Linked DNA regions of Homo sapiens: region 1 is linked to region 2. Evidence: promoter capture Hi-C in human tissues and cell types (Jung and others, 2019). All regions are on one chromosome and are shown on one strand. The core of a region is centred on a gene start or on the middle of the fragment in contact, and the rest is flanking DNA. Distances in the headings are between cores, read along the strand shown.

Region 1 (4,573 bases), core at 1,897-4,396, 110 kb before region 2:
GCTAACACAGTGAAACCCCGTCTCTACTAAAAATACAAAAAATTAGCTGGGTGTGGTGGCGGGCGCCTGTAGTCCCAGCTACTCGGGAGGCTGAGGCAGGAGAATGGCGTGAACCCAGGAGGCGGAGCTTGCAGTGAGCCGAGATGGCGCCAGTGCACTCCAGCCTGGGCGACAGAGCCAGACTCCGTCTAAAAAAAAAAAAAAAGAAAAAGAAAAAATCTTAAACTTGAAACTACAGAGCTCTGTATAGGAAGAAGAAACAGTCACTCACAAAAATGAAGAGAAGATATTTTCCTCTTTTGTCTTTCAGATCTCCCCACAAGTCTGTACATGTTTCCGGAAGCTGTTCATCTTTGAACACCCAATAGGAGGAAGCTGTGGAGTGGTTACAATCCACTGTTGCTATTGAGATTTCTGTTCTACAAATCCTATCTAAGCTCCTGGAGTAACCAAGCAACTATGTTGTTTTTTTTTCCTGTGAAATAAAACAGAGCTGGTTGTCTGGTGCAACACCAAGCTTCTGTGCTTTTCAAAGCCCTGTCAGCCAACACAAGGAGACTCAATCAAATGACCATTCCCAGCATAAGAAATGAGTACGCTCTTTAGAGAGCCAGTCGCTTCTACTACACTCCCAACTTTCAACCCTCACTTTCCGTCATCACAAACAGATAAAAAGACATCAGTGGAGGATATGATGTTCAAATCTTTCCCAGTCTCTTACATCGAAGTATGTCAGGAGCTCTGTTACACAACAATGTAACTGCAAATAGTTGACCACCACTCCCGGAGTAAGTCAATGCATTTTTGCTAATCAAATGTTTACAAAGGAACAAGATGCACAAAACTCCGTCTAACTCTCACAAGGAGTCAGCCAGGAGTTCTAAAAATTCATGTGCAGTTATGCACTTCACCCGCATCGTCACTTGGTGTTGGGTCCCAAGCAAATTTCAGGCAAATTTTTGACTTTCTCTACCACCTGAAAGCCAGCAAGAAGCCTGAGTTCCAGGGAGACTGTCCCTTCAGATGTTTGACTCTAGACTCTCAACCTAGTAGCCACTCTACCTAACAACCACAAAAGAAACTTGGTAAGTCAATTAAACACAAAACTCTCACAAATGAGACTCATATACCCCACCCTTTTGCTGGACAAGTACCCAATCTGAGACCCTCCCCCACCACTCTTTTACTCTAAACAAAAGCAAAAATCCATGCACCATACAGCCTGCCTCAGAGCACCCAGCAGGAAAGCCCGATTCCGGATAGTCGTGGACTTGTATAACCTGAGTTGAGGAAAATAGAATGCAGTATTAATGCAGAACAAGGACTTGTTCCTAGTAGTGGACACTATGACCCTTTATATTTCCCCCACTTAAAGGACTAGGAATGGCCCCAAACATGTGCCTTTCCAGGACAGCAAATGAAATATCTTGGTGGGATAAATAAGCACTTGCACCCACATTTATTTCCTATCCCTGAAACTTCTCACACAGGGTATGAGCAGGTATGAACCCACCAGGAGTAGGGCATCAGATACTCCCAGGCTGCATCTTCCAAAATGACAGGGCAAAGTTAACTCTGATCTGTTCCCAAGTGGAGCAGAGACTGGCCACATACACAACGGCTGTCCCACCAAATCTTGCCAATGTAAAAGATAAAGAGCTTAAGGGATAAAAACTCAAGCTATGAAAAAGTCAACTGGGTCCCTAGTCAGGCTTAAATTATGGTGACACATTTTTCTCGAAGAAAAGGCACCGGGATCTGCCCTGAGAATCAGACTACTCAAGCAATGACTACTACTGATTCAGTAAACCGTGTTTAGCCACTGTTTAATGAAGAGCTCTCACAGACCCCTCCCCAGGACCCCCTCAGCCAGAGTATGCCCCCCTGCAAAGTCACCAAGCTTATAAAAGAATGACACTGCCCTAGGGCACTGGCTTGGCATGTAAAGACTACGCAGAAGGGGACTTCATAAAACAAGCTTTCTTGCACATGCAAAAGGCTGGGGTTTCCAGTTGACAGATGTAAAATCGAGCCCAAAGAAAAACCCCAAGTTTGAGGGAGGAGAAAAGCACAGAGCTGCCACGCCTAACCTACCTAATATTGAAAGGCCAAAGTGATTCGGAAGGGGCCCCTCTCGTACCCACGTGTAACTGTGCCCATGAGTAGACCCATGCCAGACAAGACTAAAAGACCCCAGCCCGAGAAACGTCCAAGGGCCCCGTTACCTTCCGCTTGAGCACATTCATCGGGAGGGAACAGGAGGGCGGCCTTGGGGCGTCAGCCCCCACCTTTTCCCTCTTCCCTTGCTCTGACCGACGTCTGGAGAGGAAGTGGGGAAGTGGAGAAATCTTCCCCGCTTCATGATCCGGCTTGTGCCCGTCACTTCCCAATTTCCGCTGGGTGCCAGGCCCAGGAGACCAGGAGAAGGCGCGCCCCCGGAACACTCGCAAGGCTCTCAGGCGCGTCCCCGGCCCCGTAGCTTGGCTCGCAGTGGCCGCCGCACCCACCCAGAGCCGCTTCCTCCTACTTGGTGGACGGTTCCTGGACCGCAGGGGAGGAGGGTGGCTCTACCCAACGCGCCCCCAACACCTCCGACCTGCTCCCGCGCACTTCCCCACCCCTCCCAACCGCGCAGTGACCGACCCCCGGGTAAGGGGCGTGGCTAACAGGCAGAGTGCCCCGAGCGCGCCCCCGCCCCCGAGCGCGCCTCCGCGTTACCTTTCACCACGTCACACTCGATGACGCGTCCGCGGCGCTCGAAGAGGCTGCGCAGTTCCTGGCTCGTGCATGCAGCCGACACATTGCCCACGAAAATCTTCCAAGTATTAAGAGGCCTTGGGCGCGACATCTCCACCACGAGCGCGCGCCCCGGCCGCAGCTCGTGGCCGTGCAGGGCTTCGATGGCGCGCAGCGCGCCCGCGTTCTCGCGCATGTGCACGAAGGCGAACTGTTTCATGACGGCGCAGCTCATGACCGTGCCGTAGGGCGCAAAGAGGGCTGCCAGCTCCTCCGGAGTCGTATCCGCCCCGTCGACGTTGCCCACGAATATCTTCATTTTGTCGCCGCAGCCACCTTCCTGGAGAGCCCGGACCTCTCCTCCAGCGACAGGCAAGACGTCCGAACGACCGGCAGTCCTCCTCAGGAATGGCTGGCGACCGAGAACCCCGCCGCGCAGGCGCCCTGGCCTAGCCAATGGGGACTCGCATCCCGCGCGTCCAGCGACCAATCAGAAACGCTGAGGGAAGATGTGCTCAGGCACAGCCAATCCCAGAGGGCCTAGAGCCCGCTCGTTAGCTGAGGGGGTGGGAAAGGGACGACCAACCGCCACAGCCCGTGGCGGGAGAGGGGGTTGGGAAGAAGAGGGAGGGCTGAAGAGAGGAGAACGCGCGCGAGCGGCGCCGGCGGCAGAGAGGCCTAGTCTGTAAGGCGGTCTCTGGCCCGGGTGGGGCTGGGACCGGCGGGCTCCCAGGAAAACTTTGTACAATTGGAAGTCAGGGCTCCTCCCATTCTGGAAGCCCTGTCCAAACCCGCGCCTGGGGGTTGCCGCGTGAGTGTACGGGGGAAGGCCGGGCCTGGCGGGAGAAACCAGGACAGGCGCCTTGAGTCGGCAAACGGCTCCCAGGACTGTGCTGAGCACCGCGAGGGGACCTGAGGCAGGCCCCGGAGAAGCCCTCGTGCCATTAATTGATTCTTTGGAAACATTCCCTGGGGTTGCTGAGGTCCTGGCAGCCGGTGAAAAATCAAAGGCCTCTGCCCTGATGGAATTCCCAGTCAAGAAATAATGGAATGACGTTATTGTATGTTGAAGGTTTTCATAATAAACAGTTTAATAAACGAGAAAATTAATTCTGCAGGAAGCAAAAGTTGAGCCTTAAAAAAAATTTTAGTCCGGGAGCGGTGGCTCACGCCTGTAATTCCAGCACTTTGGGAGACCAAGGCAAGCAGATCACCGGAGGTCAGGAGTTCAGGACCAGCCTGGCCAAAATGGTGAAACCCCGTCTCTACTAAAAATACAAAATTAGCCGGGTGTGGTGGTGCGCGCCTGTAATCCCAGCTACTTGGGAGGCTGAGGCAGGAGAATCACTTGAACCCGGAAGGCGGAGGTTGCAGTGAGCCAAGATCACGCCACTGCACTCCAGCATGGGCGACAGTGAGATTCCGTCTCAAAAATTTTTTTAAACAGATTTGAGTATGTAAATAAGATTGTTGCATGGCAGACAACATCAAAAACATAGACATGTGACAAACTCAGGGAAATATTTGCCTACGTGTTCAGTCAACAAATAGCACCTACCATGTGGACACCACCAAGAATATAGCAGTGAACAAAAAAAAATGACAGAAATCCCAACCTTCTTGGATCTTATGGTGGGGAGAAACAGGCAAGAAATAAGTAAAACATAAGCGTGTTAGATGGTGATGAGGACTTGGAGTAATCAAGGGAACTAAGCCATCCTCTGAGGGAAGATCATGCCGGCCAGAAAGTACAAGTCAAAGAGTGCTGGGGCAGAAGCAAATCTGGTTCAAGGAAGAGTCAAGAGCCAGTATGGGCCAGGCCCGGTGGCTCACGCCT
Region 2 (4,412 bases), core at 1,269-3,768:
GTTGGCGCTCCCGTAATACTTTCTACATGTTCAATTTTAGCATCTACTCACTTCCCCACAAATATTTATCAAGTACCTACTTTATGTCAGGTACTGGACTAGATGCTGGGACTCAATGGTGAATAAACTAGCCATTAAACATTCTATTATGTGAAGATATTTAACATTTCTTTTTTTTTTTGAGATGGAGTCTCGCTCTGTCACCCAGGCTGAAGTGCGATGGCGTGATTTCGGCTCACTGCAACCTCCGCCTTCTGGTTTCAAGCCATTCTCCTGCCTCAGCCTCCCGAGTAGCTGGGATTACAGGCGCCTGCCACCACGCCCGGCTGATTTTTGTATTTTTAGTACAGACAGGGTTTCACCATGTTGTCCAGGCTGGTCTCAAACTCCTGACCTCGTGATCCACCCGCCTTGGCCTCCTCCTAAAGTGCTGGGATTACAGGCATGAGCCACTGTGCCTGGCTAACATTTCTTATTAGCTACTGTGTCTGTGGTTTCTCTTCCCTCACTATTGTAAGCCCAGAGCCAAATACAAACTAGGTATTCAATCAATATCATGGAATAATTGTCGACAGTGTATCTCCTCCTGACCACATGCTGATGCATTTCTGAGTGTAGTGTCCCCATGATGCCTGACACACAGTAGGGACTCACTATACACTTGCTGAATTACTGAATACATTATGGATAGGAATTTGGGGGCAAAAACCACTGAGTCCTATTGCACTCTCTGTGTGGGGTGGGATTCCAGGACTATCTTCTAGCCACCCACATGATATATCCATTGTGGTGTTGTTGCCCATGGTGAGGGCTGAGCTTTGGTAGAAAAAGCACAAAACTTGGAATCAAACAGACCCAGTTACAAATTCAGTAAACTTCACCTCTTTGAAACTATTTTCCCATTCACAAAATGGGAATAAATAAAATCCATGTTTATGTGCCTCCATGGAATGTCTAGTCCAGAAATGGATACTGAATCCATGCTAACTTCCTTTCTTTTATCCCAATATATTTCTCTACCTTTAAAAAACTTGTATCTTTTTAAATTTACATTTTTATTTAAAATTAAATATATGTATATATATATACATATATATACACATATATATACATATATATACATATATATACACATATATATATATATATTTTTTTTTGAAACTGTCTCACTCTGTCATCCAGGCTGGAGTGTAGTGGCATGGTCTCAGCTCACTCAACCTCCGCCTCCTGGGTTTGACCAATTCTCCTGCCTCAGCCTCCCAAGTAGCTGGGATTACAGGTGCCCATCACCATGCCCGGCTAATTTTTGTATTTTTAGTAGAGATGGTGTTTCACCATGTTGGACAGGCTGGTCTCGAATGCCTAAGCTCAAGCGATCCACCCACCTCAGCCTCCCAAAGTGCTGGGATTGCTGGCCTTAAAATTAAATTTAAAATGTAACATTTTTACTATGGAAAATTTTCATTCACATACAAAAGTAGAGAGACTCATATAATGAGTCCCCATATATCCCATTATCCAGCTTCAAAAATTGACAGCTCATGGCCCATCTTAAAATCTTTTGATAAACATCAAACGTTCACTTCCCTCCTTTTTACTTTCCCTCCAGATTCTAGTGCCCACCCCCAACCAAGGGATTTGCCCTTCCAACAAAGAAATCAGGTTAACTAAGAGGCTTTGTCTTAGTAGAATCCCCAGAAATATTTGATCTGCTTTACTTTCTGCAGTCTGTATTATGAAATCAATAAGTTCTCTTCACTTTCCATATAAAAACAAAATTTAACGCTAAATGTGCTTTTTCACAGTATATGTGAATTCCAGAGTATGCTGGGCCTATTTTCAGCCGTCAGGAAATCTCATTTCTGGGTACACCCCCCTACCCTCAACTCTCCTGGCTAGGGTGATATGCTTACCTTGTATTCCCCATCCCCATGTAAATCTGCCAGCGCTGGAAAACAAAAGGGCCAAAACCAGAGTCTCAGAATCCCAGAGGCTTCACTACAGGACCATTGTCTGACTCCCCATCCCACTAGAACCCAGGGTTCCTGGTTCCAGAGACTCACCTAGGCAGGCAGAAAAGGTGTGGATATTGGCCATTGGGTCGTAGTGCGCATCCAACCACTTCGAATTGGCCTCATTGCTGGAAGTGGGGGAAAGACAGTTGGGGAGTGAGTCCCATGGGAGGGGAAAAAAAAACTTTGAGGAAGCTGGTACAGGTCACTCTGAACATAAGGTACAGAACGTCTGGGTACAAGTCCAGGCTCCGCCACTGGCTCACCGAGCGACCTCCAGACACACATATGCACATCTTAGGCCTCGGTTTCCCTATCTGACCTCTTAAGAGTCCTTCCAGACTGCCCGAGAACAGCAGGAGCCCAGAGCCCGGGGACCAAGGGACCCTCTTTACACGGGTGGGAAAAGAGGCCTTGAGGAGCCCTGCCTTCACCTCTCAGCTCCGCAGGCGTCGGAATCCGATGAGGACGCAGCGGCCATCTTCGCAGGCGTCGTCCTGGCAACCGGCCCCGCCCTCGCGTAACGCCCAATAGTGCCCGAGCACAGGGAAGGGCGAGTACAAAGGTTCCGGGCGCCAAGCTTTCCCACCCAGGCTCAGGAGGACGCGCTGGCCACCTTCCTGGGTTGAGGAATCTGTCTCAGATTCCTCAAAGATATTTATCTTTGCTCCTTCCCAGTCAGAGCCACCTTTCCAGGCGTCTGGGTCCTACAATCTCTGGGTCAGCCACAGAGCCCTCTGGCTTCCAGGGTTGGAAAGAAGCCCCTTCTAGCATTTATGAGCAGCAAAAAGAACTCCTCCTGTCTCCATCTTCATGGTTACCCGGTTGAAAAGGACCATGTCCTGCCTTGCTGCGTTACTGTAGAGGTCCAGGCCCAGAGAAACAAAACACGAGGGTTATGGGACAAATGCAGAGGATTCTGACTGAAGTTGAGTTTGTAGGTTCCCAGAACTTTTTTTTTTTTTTTTTTTTTTTGAGACGTAGTCTCGCTCTGTCGCTTGCGCTGGAGCGCAGTAGCGCGATTTCGGCTCACCGCAACCTCCGCCTCCCGGGTTCCAGGGATTCTCCTGCCTCAGCCTCCCGAGTAGCTGGGATTACAGGCGCATGCCACCATGCCCAGCTACTTTATTTTTTAGTAGAGACGAGGTTTCACCATATTGGCCAAGCCGGTCTCGAACTCCTGACCTCGTGATCCCCTCGCCTCGGCCTCCCAAAGTGCTGGGATTACAGGCATGAGCCACCGTGCCCGGCCCCAGAACATTTAAAAATGCAAGGAATGCCACAAAGGAGAGCTGCAAAAATTGTGCTATGTTCAGCTCTGTGACTGCGTATCCTCATCTAGAGATAATGTCAACATCCTGTTGTGGAAGGGAGGCTAAAAATGGCCCTCCTTGCCCCCTCCCCAGGCCTTGAGCCCATCACTCTGCTGGGAGTAAATGAGAAGACAGGCAAAGGCAAGGAGGAGCCACACACGCCGCAAAGATGGTGGTTGTCTCTAATATTTATTTGTCTGGTTATAAAATTAATATGTGAGGAGCATTGGATTTGGTGAGAACGTTTTGAACCCTAGCTGTCACGTGCCACCTGCGGGATCTAGACCAGTGACTTCTCAGAACTGCCATTTCCTCATCTGGTAGACAGGATGGTAAGCCCTGTCTTGCTCACTCCACGTATGGCAGTGCAGATGAAATGAGATCACAGAGGGGAAGCAATTGGCAGGCTGGAAAGTGCTGACAAATGGAAGGGGTTGTGTCACCACCCTCAGCTGAGGTAGTACCAAGGTCCAAGCTCCTGCCCCTCCCCCTCCCCAGCCCCTAAATACACACACGAATGGAGGGCCACTTGCAGCCTTGGTCTGATGGAATTGGGGGCAAGGCCACACATCTTCCTCAAGCTTGGCCAGATGGGGCCTCACTGGGGCCCTTCCAGAATCGGGCATCGGCTGTGGCCAGCTGTGTGAGGATCTCCTCCAACTCGGGTCCATCCTCTGGGAAACGCTCAGAGAAGGATCGGATGAGGCCAGCAGCTGACGCCTCGTATTCCAGAAGCTGCACGTCTGAGCCTGGGGAGGAGATGGAGAGAAAACAGCAGGGAAAGGTCTGAATAGGGAAACTGAATCATCATAAAAATCTTAATAATCACAATTACAGCAGCAGCTGTTTCTTACTGAGCTCTGCCAAAAAAACCTGTGCTCTACGTTTTAGGTTAATTACTTAATTTACTCTTTACAGTAACCCTGTGAGGAAGGAAATACTACAGGGGGAGTATTAAATGCATTGCTGCTTTCGTTCATTCAGTCAATCAAATAAAGATTTAGGCTGGGCATGGTGGCTCATGCCTGTAATCCTAGCACCTTGGTAGGCTGAGGTGGGAGGATCACCTGAGGTCAGGAGTTTGAGA

The links. Contacts are between HindIII fragments. The study calls those that stand out against the background at their distance.
Region 1: the fragment with the promoter of RBM14 here is called in contact with the fragment with the promoter of BBS1 in region 2 in 2 of the 25 tissues and cell types used here (H1 embryonic stem cells and mesendoderm cells).

The regions. Positions count from the first base shown.
Region 1 is chr11:66,615,203-66,619,775 of GRCh38, reverse strand. RBM14 (RNA binding motif protein 14) reads right to left here and starts at 3,146. Exons shown (of 3, transcript NM_006328.4): 1 at 2,719-3,146. The coding sequence starts at 3,055. RBM14-RBM4 (RBM14-RBM4 readthrough) reads right to left here and starts at 3,146. Exons shown (of 2, transcript NM_001198846.2): 1 at 2,719-3,146. The coding sequence starts at 3,055. RefSeq lists enhancers at 2,901-3,130, 2,263-3,196, 3,561-3,670. The HindIII fragment of the contact is 10,275 bases long and covers 1,210-4,573 here.
Region 2 is chr11:66,508,741-66,513,152 of GRCh38, reverse strand. It overlaps BBS1 (Bardet-Biedl syndrome 1), which reads right to left and starts at 2,518. Exons shown (of 17, transcript NM_024649.5): 1 at 2,447-2,518; 2 at 2,064-2,140; 3 at 1,914-1,948. The coding sequence starts at 2,493. DPP3 (dipeptidyl peptidase 3) reads right to left here. Exons shown (of 18, transcript NM_130443.4): 18 at 3,496-4,074. The coding sequence ends at 3,902. RefSeq lists an enhancer at 2,607-2,656. The HindIII fragment of the contact is 12,258 bases long and covers 1-3,249 here.